2 separate regions of the Homo sapiens genome follow, and region 2 is linked to region 1. Evidence: promoter capture Hi-C in human tissues and cell types (Jung and others, 2019). All regions are on one chromosome and are shown on one strand. The core of a region is centred on a gene start or on the middle of the fragment in contact, and the rest is flanking DNA. Distances in the headings are between cores, read along the strand shown.

Region 1 (4,560 bases), core at 1,391-3,890:
TAATGTATTGTTATATCTCATCTTGTTAGAGTCCTCTTGTGGGATGCTGCAGACTCACAGTGACTATGATACTGCCTCCTAAGCAAGGACACACCCCAGTGATGAGAAATAGGCAAACCATGGTCTTGAAATGCCTAGGAGTATAGGCTGGGGTTTGGAGGGAAATAGTTGGATGACCTCAGGAAATAGAAAAAAACAGGCAGCTGCTTTTTGGAGAGAGTGGAGATGAGATCAGTGCCTACCTGGAACAAAACCCTCTGGCATTCTAGACTGGCTGAATATGTAGTGTAGGGACTTTATCATCTGTCAGAAAATCTCCTTTAAGAAGAAGCGATCAAGAAGTTTAGTCCTGGCCAGGTGTGGTGGCTCACGCCTGTAATCCCAACACTTTGGGAGGCCAAGGCAGGCGGATTACTTGAGGTCAGAAGTTCAAGACCAGCCTGGCCAATGTATGGTGAAACCCCGTCTCTACCAAAAATGTAAAAAATTAGCCAGGTGTGATGGCACACACCTGCAATCCCAGCTACTCAGGAGGCTGAGGCAGAAGAATCATTTGAACCTGGGATGCAGAGGTTGCAGTGAGCCGAGATCCTGCCACTGCACTCCAGCCTGGGTGACGGAGCGAGACTCCGTCTCAAAAAGAGTTCAGCCCCTATCCTGTACAGATGAGAAAATAGACCTGGAGGAAACCCAAGTCTATCAACAGCAGAGACCACAACCCATGTCAGTGCAAAGAAGCCAAGTGTTGCACTACCCTATTGGGATCCAGCTCACATTGAGCCAGTTTTGTTTTTTGAGCTGTTACGCAAGTGCCTTCTGTCGAAGAGAAGCTTTACTCAATTCTACAGGGCAGCCCCCTTCCTATTTTCAGTGGTAGAAAAGATGAGACCTGGGGATCCACACTTGAGGCTGTAGATTGGTGCTGGCAGCCCTGCTTCTGCAACTGAGTCTCAGCCCTAGTCTTGACCTTGTTCTTTTTCTCTAACAAGCCTTTTCTCTTTCTAACCCTCCCTCCCAATATACCCACTTCATACTATCCATTGTTCATACACTTCTCTACCTTTATTCCTCTTCTCATATTCCTCCCTTCGCCAGAGTGTCTTTTTCCACCATCTTCACCTGAGTTCAATTCATCCTTCAAGGTCCCGGCTCAAATTCCACCTTCACCAAAGAGCTTCCCAGTTTTCTCCAGTAAAAAATAGTTTCCCTCCCTTGTGTTCCCAAGGGGGAAGGGAGGAAAAAGGATAAACAAGCATTAAGCACTTGATCCATTTTAGGCACTTCGCATGTGTCACTTGTATGAGGTAGGTATTGCCATTTTACTTAATGATAAAAGAGTTGGAGAGGGTAAGCTGTCTGTAAAAGGTCAAGGTCATATAACTAGTAAGTGGTGGTGCTGGGGATTTGAACTCAGTCTAACTTCAGAATATAACTTTACAGCCTACCACATTTGGTCTCCTATTACATTTACTTTTGTCAGTTCACTCCTCTAGCATGCTGTTTTGCAAATAGCATTTTAGTTAAATGTTTGTGACATTGACTTCTCTTGCTTCCTTACTCTGTTTCTCCAGGATTTGTGGCAGGAGTCTCCCTGCCTTAATCATAAAGGAATTGAGTAAATTGGGGGTGGAGCTGGGCAGGTGGAGAGCCTGAAAGAGTGTGCCTCCTGACGTGTGGGCTCCCTGGAGATAAGTAAAGCCTGCCAGCCTGACAAGTCCATTGCCAGGGATATTGTAGACATTTCCAACGCTCTAGAAAGGATATTGCTCTATATTCACAGACTCTTAGAATGTTAGAGCTGGAAGGGGATTAAGAAATCACCTAGCTTACTGGTTTTCAAACATGCAGTTGTGGGCCCCGTTAAAAATGGGTCTTTTGAGAAGTATATACTTGGAAAAAAAAGTTGGAGAAGCAGCTGTAGTAATGCTGCCCCTCTCATCCCCACACACAAACATCTGAAAAATCCCTAGAACTGAGGAGCCGAGTTTGGAAAGTCAATAGTGTAACCTCCCTCATTTTACAGATGCAGAGCCTTAACATCAAGTCTAGTCATGACCAAGGCTGCACAGCCCGTTAGTTTGGGAGCCAATACCTAATGTCTTCTGAGGTTCTAATTCCAATGCTTTCTGTGGAAGAATCATACATACGCAGTATTTCTTAAGTGGCTGTTTGCGGCAAAGCACTGAAATAGTTGCTATGAGGACGACAAATATGAACGACCCCAGTTTTACCCACTCATGAGCTCACAGTTGAGGCCAGTGAAGAACCTAGAGACAAAACACGCACTTAACTATAACTTATAGTTCCCTAACTACGATTGCTGAGACAAGGATCGTAGTTATGGCCAGTTATGCGGGGAGGGTGGGCTGAACAATGAGACTACCGGATTGAGAGAGGCCCGGGTCTCGCGCGGAGAGAAGGGGCAGGAGGAGGCAGAGGGTCGAACTTAGGTGAGAAATATGGCTGGCGGGCCCCACACCAGGGTCCGGCACAGTCCAGCTGGAAAAGGGGTCTCTCACAGAGTGGGTGGCCGAGTTAGGCCGCTCTCCACGGGTATTCATGGCTCGGTCCACCCCCATTCCTGTCCTGGCTGCGTAATCCGAAGGACGCTGGGAGGAAGGGGCGGGACTTGTGGCGGAAGTTCCTAGGCCAGCCTGTCACGTGGGAGGGAGGCTCGGCGCTCAGGTGAGTGGCGGGTGATCTGCGGTCTCTGGCTTAAAGCGTCGCAAGCCATGAGTGCCCACAAGGTGTGTGGTCATCCTATATCCGGGCAGTGACGGGCCCTATTTTCGGTTTGGAGCTGGACTCAGGAAGGTTACAAACTGGTTCCAACCAAGTCTGAATCTGGAGACGGACCAAGCTATCTTTTGAGGCACCCAAGCTCTGGGTAGAAGCCAGAGCAAAGCTGTCCTCATGAGTGTCTCCGTCGGGAACGGAGGCTTCCAGGTGGTCTGGCTTCAGGAATGAGGTTGGGGTGGCTGGTGGCTGCTACCAGGAGTCCATAGCTTCCCACAGCCTTTCTCTCTTCCCCAATTGTCTAAGGCGACTCCTGCGACAGGAAGCTGTCTGGGAAGCATCCTTCATGTGGCCTCTGCCCCTTTAAGTCACATTGGAAGTGGGAAGGGGAAGGGAGTGGGCACAAGGGAATGTCAGGCGGCTTCTTAGTCGTGGAGAGGGACGGTGGGGGTGACCCCCTCTCCTCTTGGCTTGACAGGAAGCATGGCACTCTGGCGGGCATACCAGCGGGCCCTGGCCGCTCACCCGTGGAAAGTACAGGTCCTGACAGCTGGTGAGTGTCCCTCTAGGACTTGAGTGGGACCAGGGCAGACTGATTTGGAAGCCAGAGGCTTGCCCCACTGCACCACCCTCACTTCCTGTTTCTATTCGGCTCTCTTGAAGGGTTGGCTGTCTTTCATCCTACACTGTCCCCAGTCTGTTTTGGAGGGTGGTCCCCAAGGCTGTTTTTAAGGGGTATGCGTAGTTGGCCAAGCTGTGCAGTAGGGTTTTAGGATTTCAAAGTCCTCAAAAAGCTGAACAGTCAGCCCTGAAGGATAAAGGCATTGCCCCAGGAGGCCTCAACTTGGAAAACATTTTACCGTATGCAAAGCACTTTCATATACGTTATGGCATAGGGCCCCCACAAAGGTGTGTGAGCTAGGAGGGTTACTTGAGTCCACATTAGATCACACCTAATAAGTGCTGAATCAAGACTCTTACCCCAGTTTTTCTTGGTATTTTTTATTGTGAAACATACAAAAGAATGATTAAGATGTGTATGTACAGTTTAAATGGCATTAAAACTGAACACTCCTGTGTCAGTAATCAGCTTTGAGACCTCTTGAGTGCCTCTCCGTAATTCACCCAAAATTTCCTGAGTTTTGTTTATATCGTTCATTTGCTTTTGTTATCATTTACTGCCTAAATATGTATCTCCAAGGTTAGTATATTGGTATCTGATCACTCCATCCTGATCCATTTGGAGTGATCAGATACCAGTCACTCCAAATGCAGTGATTGAGTACTAACCTCACAGAGGTAATGCAGTGACCTACCTGCATTTGTTACCATCTTCATTTTGCAAGTTAGCTAATGTAAGAGGATGGCATGAAGATAAGTAAGTCTTAGAGGGGGAATGTCAGAAGGCCTTAGAACATTGGGGTGCAAAGAGTGATCACATTAAGATGAGGTCTTGCCCATGTTTAGAGAAGGGGAACAGGATTCTAGTGATGACTGGCCTTCTGAGAAGAGGACTATTGGAAGGGATTGGGGGCTACTGAAGGCCAGAGTGGAACAGGGATCCTGTGACCAGAACAGCCCTGCATCGGCACAGAAACTTAACTGCATGAATGGCCAGGAGATGGATTCTTTGGCCCTTCCCTGGGCCCCTCTCCAGTCTCCGGTGCCCAACCACCTCTTGTCCTGTCCTCAGCGTCCGTCAGCCTGTATGACTCACCTGGCTACGTGTGTGGTGACTCATGCTGGACAGTGTGGCTATGATGGGAACTGACACGCTGGGCCCTTTGCCCAGGCTCAGATTCCCTCAGGGCCCATAACTGCCAG
Region 2 (4,560 bases), core at 618-3,117, 1.5 Mb after region 1:
GCACTTCAGGAGGCCAAGACAGGCGTATCACAAGGTCAGGAGATCGAGACCATCCTGGCTAACACGGTGAAACCACATCTCTACTAAAAATACAAAAATTAGCCGGGCGTGGTGGCATGCGCCTGTAGTCCCAGCTACCTGGGAGGCTGAGGCAGGAGAATCACTTGAACCTGGGAGGCGGAGGTTCCAGTGAGCCAAAATTGCACTACTGCACTCCAGCCTGGTGACAGAGCAAGACTCCATCTCAAAAAAAAAAAAAAAAGAATGATGTGGAGTAGTAGGTTGTTTGTAGATACTTTTTAGTAGATGAAGTTAGTTTCCTTTTATTTGTAATTTGCTAAGAGATTTTCTAATACACAGATGTTGAATTTTATCAGTTGCTTTTCCTTCATGTACATAATTCCTGTAGTGAATTATATTGATTTTACGTATTAAATGTTAAACCAACCTTGTGTTCCTTGGATAAACCAACTTGGTTGTGATATATTATTAATCATCTGTATCATAGATTTTATTTGCTCATAGTTTGCGTTTAACTCTAAGGTTTGCCTGCATGTTTTCCCCATATAATGTCCCTGTTAAAATTTGGTATCATAAAAAAGTTGGTAATTGGTTTTTGGTTCTCTGAAATAATTTGTATAAGATTGTTGTTTTTGTAGGCCAGGTGCAGTGGCTGACACCTATAATCCCAGCACTTTGGGAGGCTGAGGTGGGTGGATCACCTAAGGTTATGAATTTGAGACTCAGCCTGGCCAACATGGTGAAGTCCCATCTCTACTAAAATTACAAAAGTGAGCCAGGCGTGGTGGTGGGCACCTGTAATCCCAGCTACTTGGGAGGCTGAGGCAGGAGAATTGCTTGAACCTGGGAGGTGGAGGTTGCAGTGAGCCAAGATTGCATCATTGCACTCCAGCCAGGGGACGGAATGAGACTCTGTCTCAGAAAAAATAAAGATTGTTTTTCTTCCTTAAAAGGTTTGGGGGGTGGGCACAGTGACTCACTCCTGTAATCCCAGCACTTTGGGAAATGGAGGTGGGCCAATCACTTGAGGTCAGGAGTTTGAGACCAGCCTGGCCACCATGGTGAAACCCCATCTCTACTAAAAATAAAGAAATCGGCCTGACATGGAGGCGGGTGCCTGTAATCCCAGCTACTCCAGAGGCAAGGCACGAGAATCACTTGAAGCTGGGAGGCGCAGGTTGCAGTGAGCTGAGATTGTGCCACTGTCCTCCAGCCAGGGAGACAGAGCGAGACTCTGTCTCAAAAAATAAACAAACAAACAAATAAATAAATAAGTTTGGGAGAATTTCCTGATAGAAACCTGGGCTGAAATGTTCCTTTTTAGGGATATTTTACTTTTAATTAAATTCATCATAAATATGGTAAAACATACAGATCACAAGTCTATAATTCACCTACATGAATGGGAATATGAGTTAGAATAAATGAGAATACTTATAATTCCTTGACTTGGGGAAAAATTCTATTAGCCTGGGCAGCACTATAATAGCTTATATTCAATGAATGACAGTGTTAAGTTCACACCATCTGTATAGCTCTGGAAAATAGGCTAAATAAAAACAAGTGTTATGCTTCAAATTGTGTCCCCTTCAAAAAGATATATTGAAATCATAACCTCTGGTACACCAGAATGTGTGCTTATTGGGAAACAGAGCTGTTGTAGAGTTAATTAGTTAAGATGAAGTCATACTGTAGTAGGGTGGGTCATTAGTCCACTAAGACTAGTGTCTTTATAAGATGGGTCATATGAAGACATGGAGACATGAAGAGAGTGCCGTGTGACGATGGAGACGAGGTTGAAGTGATGCTGCTATAACCCAAGGAATGCCAAAGATTGCTGGATGTTACCAGAAACTAAGAGAAAGGGACGGAATAGCTTATCTCACAGAAGGAACCATCCTTGCTGACACATCAGTTTTGGATTTTCAGCCTCCAGAACTGTGAAGGAATAAGTGTCTTGTTTTATACCACCTAGGTTATGTACTTTTTAAAATGACAGGTCTGGGGAATTAACATAGGGAGTAAAGTTCATTCTTCATTATACAATGTATTCAGTATGTTATATTCCCATGAAATCTTTTAAAATATTGTATAGTCATCATCTCTGCTGCCATAATCTTTCTGTTAACATTTTAATTATCTTCCTTAAGTGAGACTTGCAGCCAAAGCTGAAGGAGGCTTACATATACAAGGGTTTGGTGCCACCTACTTTCTTAATTTCTTTTTTTAGTTGGGAGACAGGGTCTTACTCTGTCACCCAGGCTGGAGGCAGTGGCGTGATCACAACTCAAGTGCAGTCTCAACTTCTTAGGCTCAGGTCATCCTCCTGCCTCAGCCCCCCAAGTAGCTGGGACTACAGCACGCCACCGCACCTGGCTAACTTTATATTTATTTATTTATTTATTTATTTATTTATTTATTTATTTATTTAGAGATGGAGTTTCACTCTTTCGCCCAGGCTGGAGTGCAGTGGTGTGATCTCAGCTCACTGCAACCTCCGCCTTCCGATTTCAAGCAATTTTCCTGCCTCAGCCTCCCAAGTAGCTGGGATTACAGGCATGTGCCACCACGCCCGACTAATTTTTGTATTTGTAGTAGAGTCGGGGTTTCACCATGTTGGCCAGGCTGGTCTTGAACTCTTGACCTCGTGATCCTCCCACCTCAGCCCCACAAAGTGCTGGCATTACAGTCGTGAGCCACCGCACCCGGCCATGTATTTTTTTTTTACATAGACAAGATTTTGCCACGTTGCCCAGGCTGGTCTCGAACTCAAGTGATCCCACCCGCTTTGGCCTCCCAAAGTACTGGGATTACAGGTGTGAGCCACTGTGTCCAGTCTGGAAGGCAGTTTATAATACTGAATACCTCCTGTCAATAAGGACAAACTAAAAGAAGCAAACTACTCTAAAAATTAGAAAAAAAAGAATAATAAAGTAAACTAATAGATAGCTGAAGAAAATAATTTATAATAAAAAAAATGGTGGAAATTACTAAATTAGAAGAGAAAAATGGTAGAAAAGGTTGGTTTTTAAATGAATCAATATAATAGACAAACTTTGTTAACCTCCTTTTTTTTTTTTAAAGGAAAAAACCATGAGTATATAAATTCAGGTTGAAATTTCAAAACAATTAAAAAACCATCAGACTTTTTCACAGTACTTTGTAGATGAAATGGGATACTTTTCTAGGAAAATACAGTACACAAAAATTGAACCCAGTAGAGATAGAAAGTATAAATAGAGTTTCATAGAAGTAGACCTGTGTTAGAACTCCCCTTCAAAAGAACACTGTACCCACATGTTCAGAGAAATTCAATCATATTTTTATTTTTTAATTTTTATTTATTTATTTATTTTGAGACAGAGTCTCATTCTGTCCCCCAGGCTGGAGTGCAGTGGTACGATCTTGGCTCACTGCAGCCTCCGCCTCCTGGATTCAAGCGATTCTCCTGCCTCAGCCTGCCGAGTGGCTGGGATTACAGGTGTGCACCACCATGCCCGGCTAATTTTTTGTATTTTTAGTAGATATGGGGTTTCACCATGTTGGCCAGGTTGGTCTCAAGCTCCTGACCTCAAGTGATCCGCCCACCTTGGCTTCCCAAAGTGCTGGGGTTACAGGCGTGAGCCACCATGCCCAGCCAGAATGCAACCATATGTTTAAAGATAATAATCTTAATGTTTTAAACACTGTTACAGAGCTAGAATAAAAAACATAACTTCTATGCTTGCTGAAAAGGTCTTTGAATAAATTTTATGCTCAATAAAATTGAGAATTGGTGGATTTCTCTTTAACGTTATAACTGAGTTGAGAAACCAGTGTCTTAAGGGGGAACACTAGTGGCTTATCCTTTAGCCAGAATGAGTCAAGAACAAGATGTCCACTATCTCCATTCTTATTTAACATTATGTTAGAGGTGTTTTGTTTTGTTTTGTTTTTTCTGAGATGGAGTCTTCCTCTGTTGCCCAGGCTAGAGAGCAGTGGCACTGTCTCGGCTCACTGCAACCTCCATCTCCTGGGTTCAAGCAATTCTCCTGCCTCAGCTTCCTGAGTAGTTGGGATTACAGGCGCATGTCACCACGCCCGGCTAATTTTCTATATTTTTAGTAGAGATGGGGCTTCACCATGTTGGCCTGGCTGGTCTGAAACTCCTGACCTCAGATGATCCACCCATCTCAGCCTCCCAAAGTGCTGGGATTACAGGCATGAGCCACCGCGCCTGGCCTAGAGTTGTTTATATCAACACAGGTAAGCAAGAGAAAGCAGTTTGAGTAACCGGCGACAAGAATCAGAAAGGATTAGGTAAAACTACTTTGTTTTTTCAGATGATACGATTTTGCGTCTGACAAACACAAAAGAATCAGTGGAGATAAATATTGATTAAAAAGAACTGTTGGCCCATGCTTGTAGTCCCAGCACTTCGGGAGGGTAGGGCAGGAGGATCACTTGAGGCCAGGAGTTTGAGACCAACCTGGACAAACATAGCGAGACTCTGTCTCTACAAAAAAAAAAAAAAAAAAAGAAAAAAGCCCGGGCGGTGGC

What was found. The method cuts DNA at HindIII sites, captures the fragments that hold promoters and counts their contacts. A contact is called where the count stands out against the background at its distance.
Region 2: a fragment that was not itself captured here is called in contact with the fragment with the promoter of MPV17 in region 1 in 1 of the 25 tissues and cell types used here (H1 embryonic stem cells).

Annotation. Positions count from the first base shown.
Region 1 is chr2:27,321,177-27,325,736 of GRCh38, reverse strand. It overlaps MPV17 (mitochondrial inner membrane protein MPV17), which reads left to right and starts at 2,640. Exons shown (of 8, transcript NM_002437.5): 1 at 2,640-2,685; 2 at 3,215-3,289. The coding sequence starts at 3,220. RefSeq lists enhancers at 1,831-2,803, 2,926-2,985, 3,036-3,085, 3,096-3,185, 3,196-3,245 and 2 more. The HindIII fragment of the contact is 20,851 bases long and covers 1-2,945 here.
Region 2 is chr2:25,781,946-25,786,505 of GRCh38, reverse strand. All of the region lies in intron 5 of ASXL2 (ASXL transcriptional regulator 2), which reads left to right. Among named protein-coding and RNA genes, the nearest start is that of ASXL2, 94 kb to the left of the region's middle. The HindIII fragment of the contact is 8,065 bases long and covers 1-4,560 here.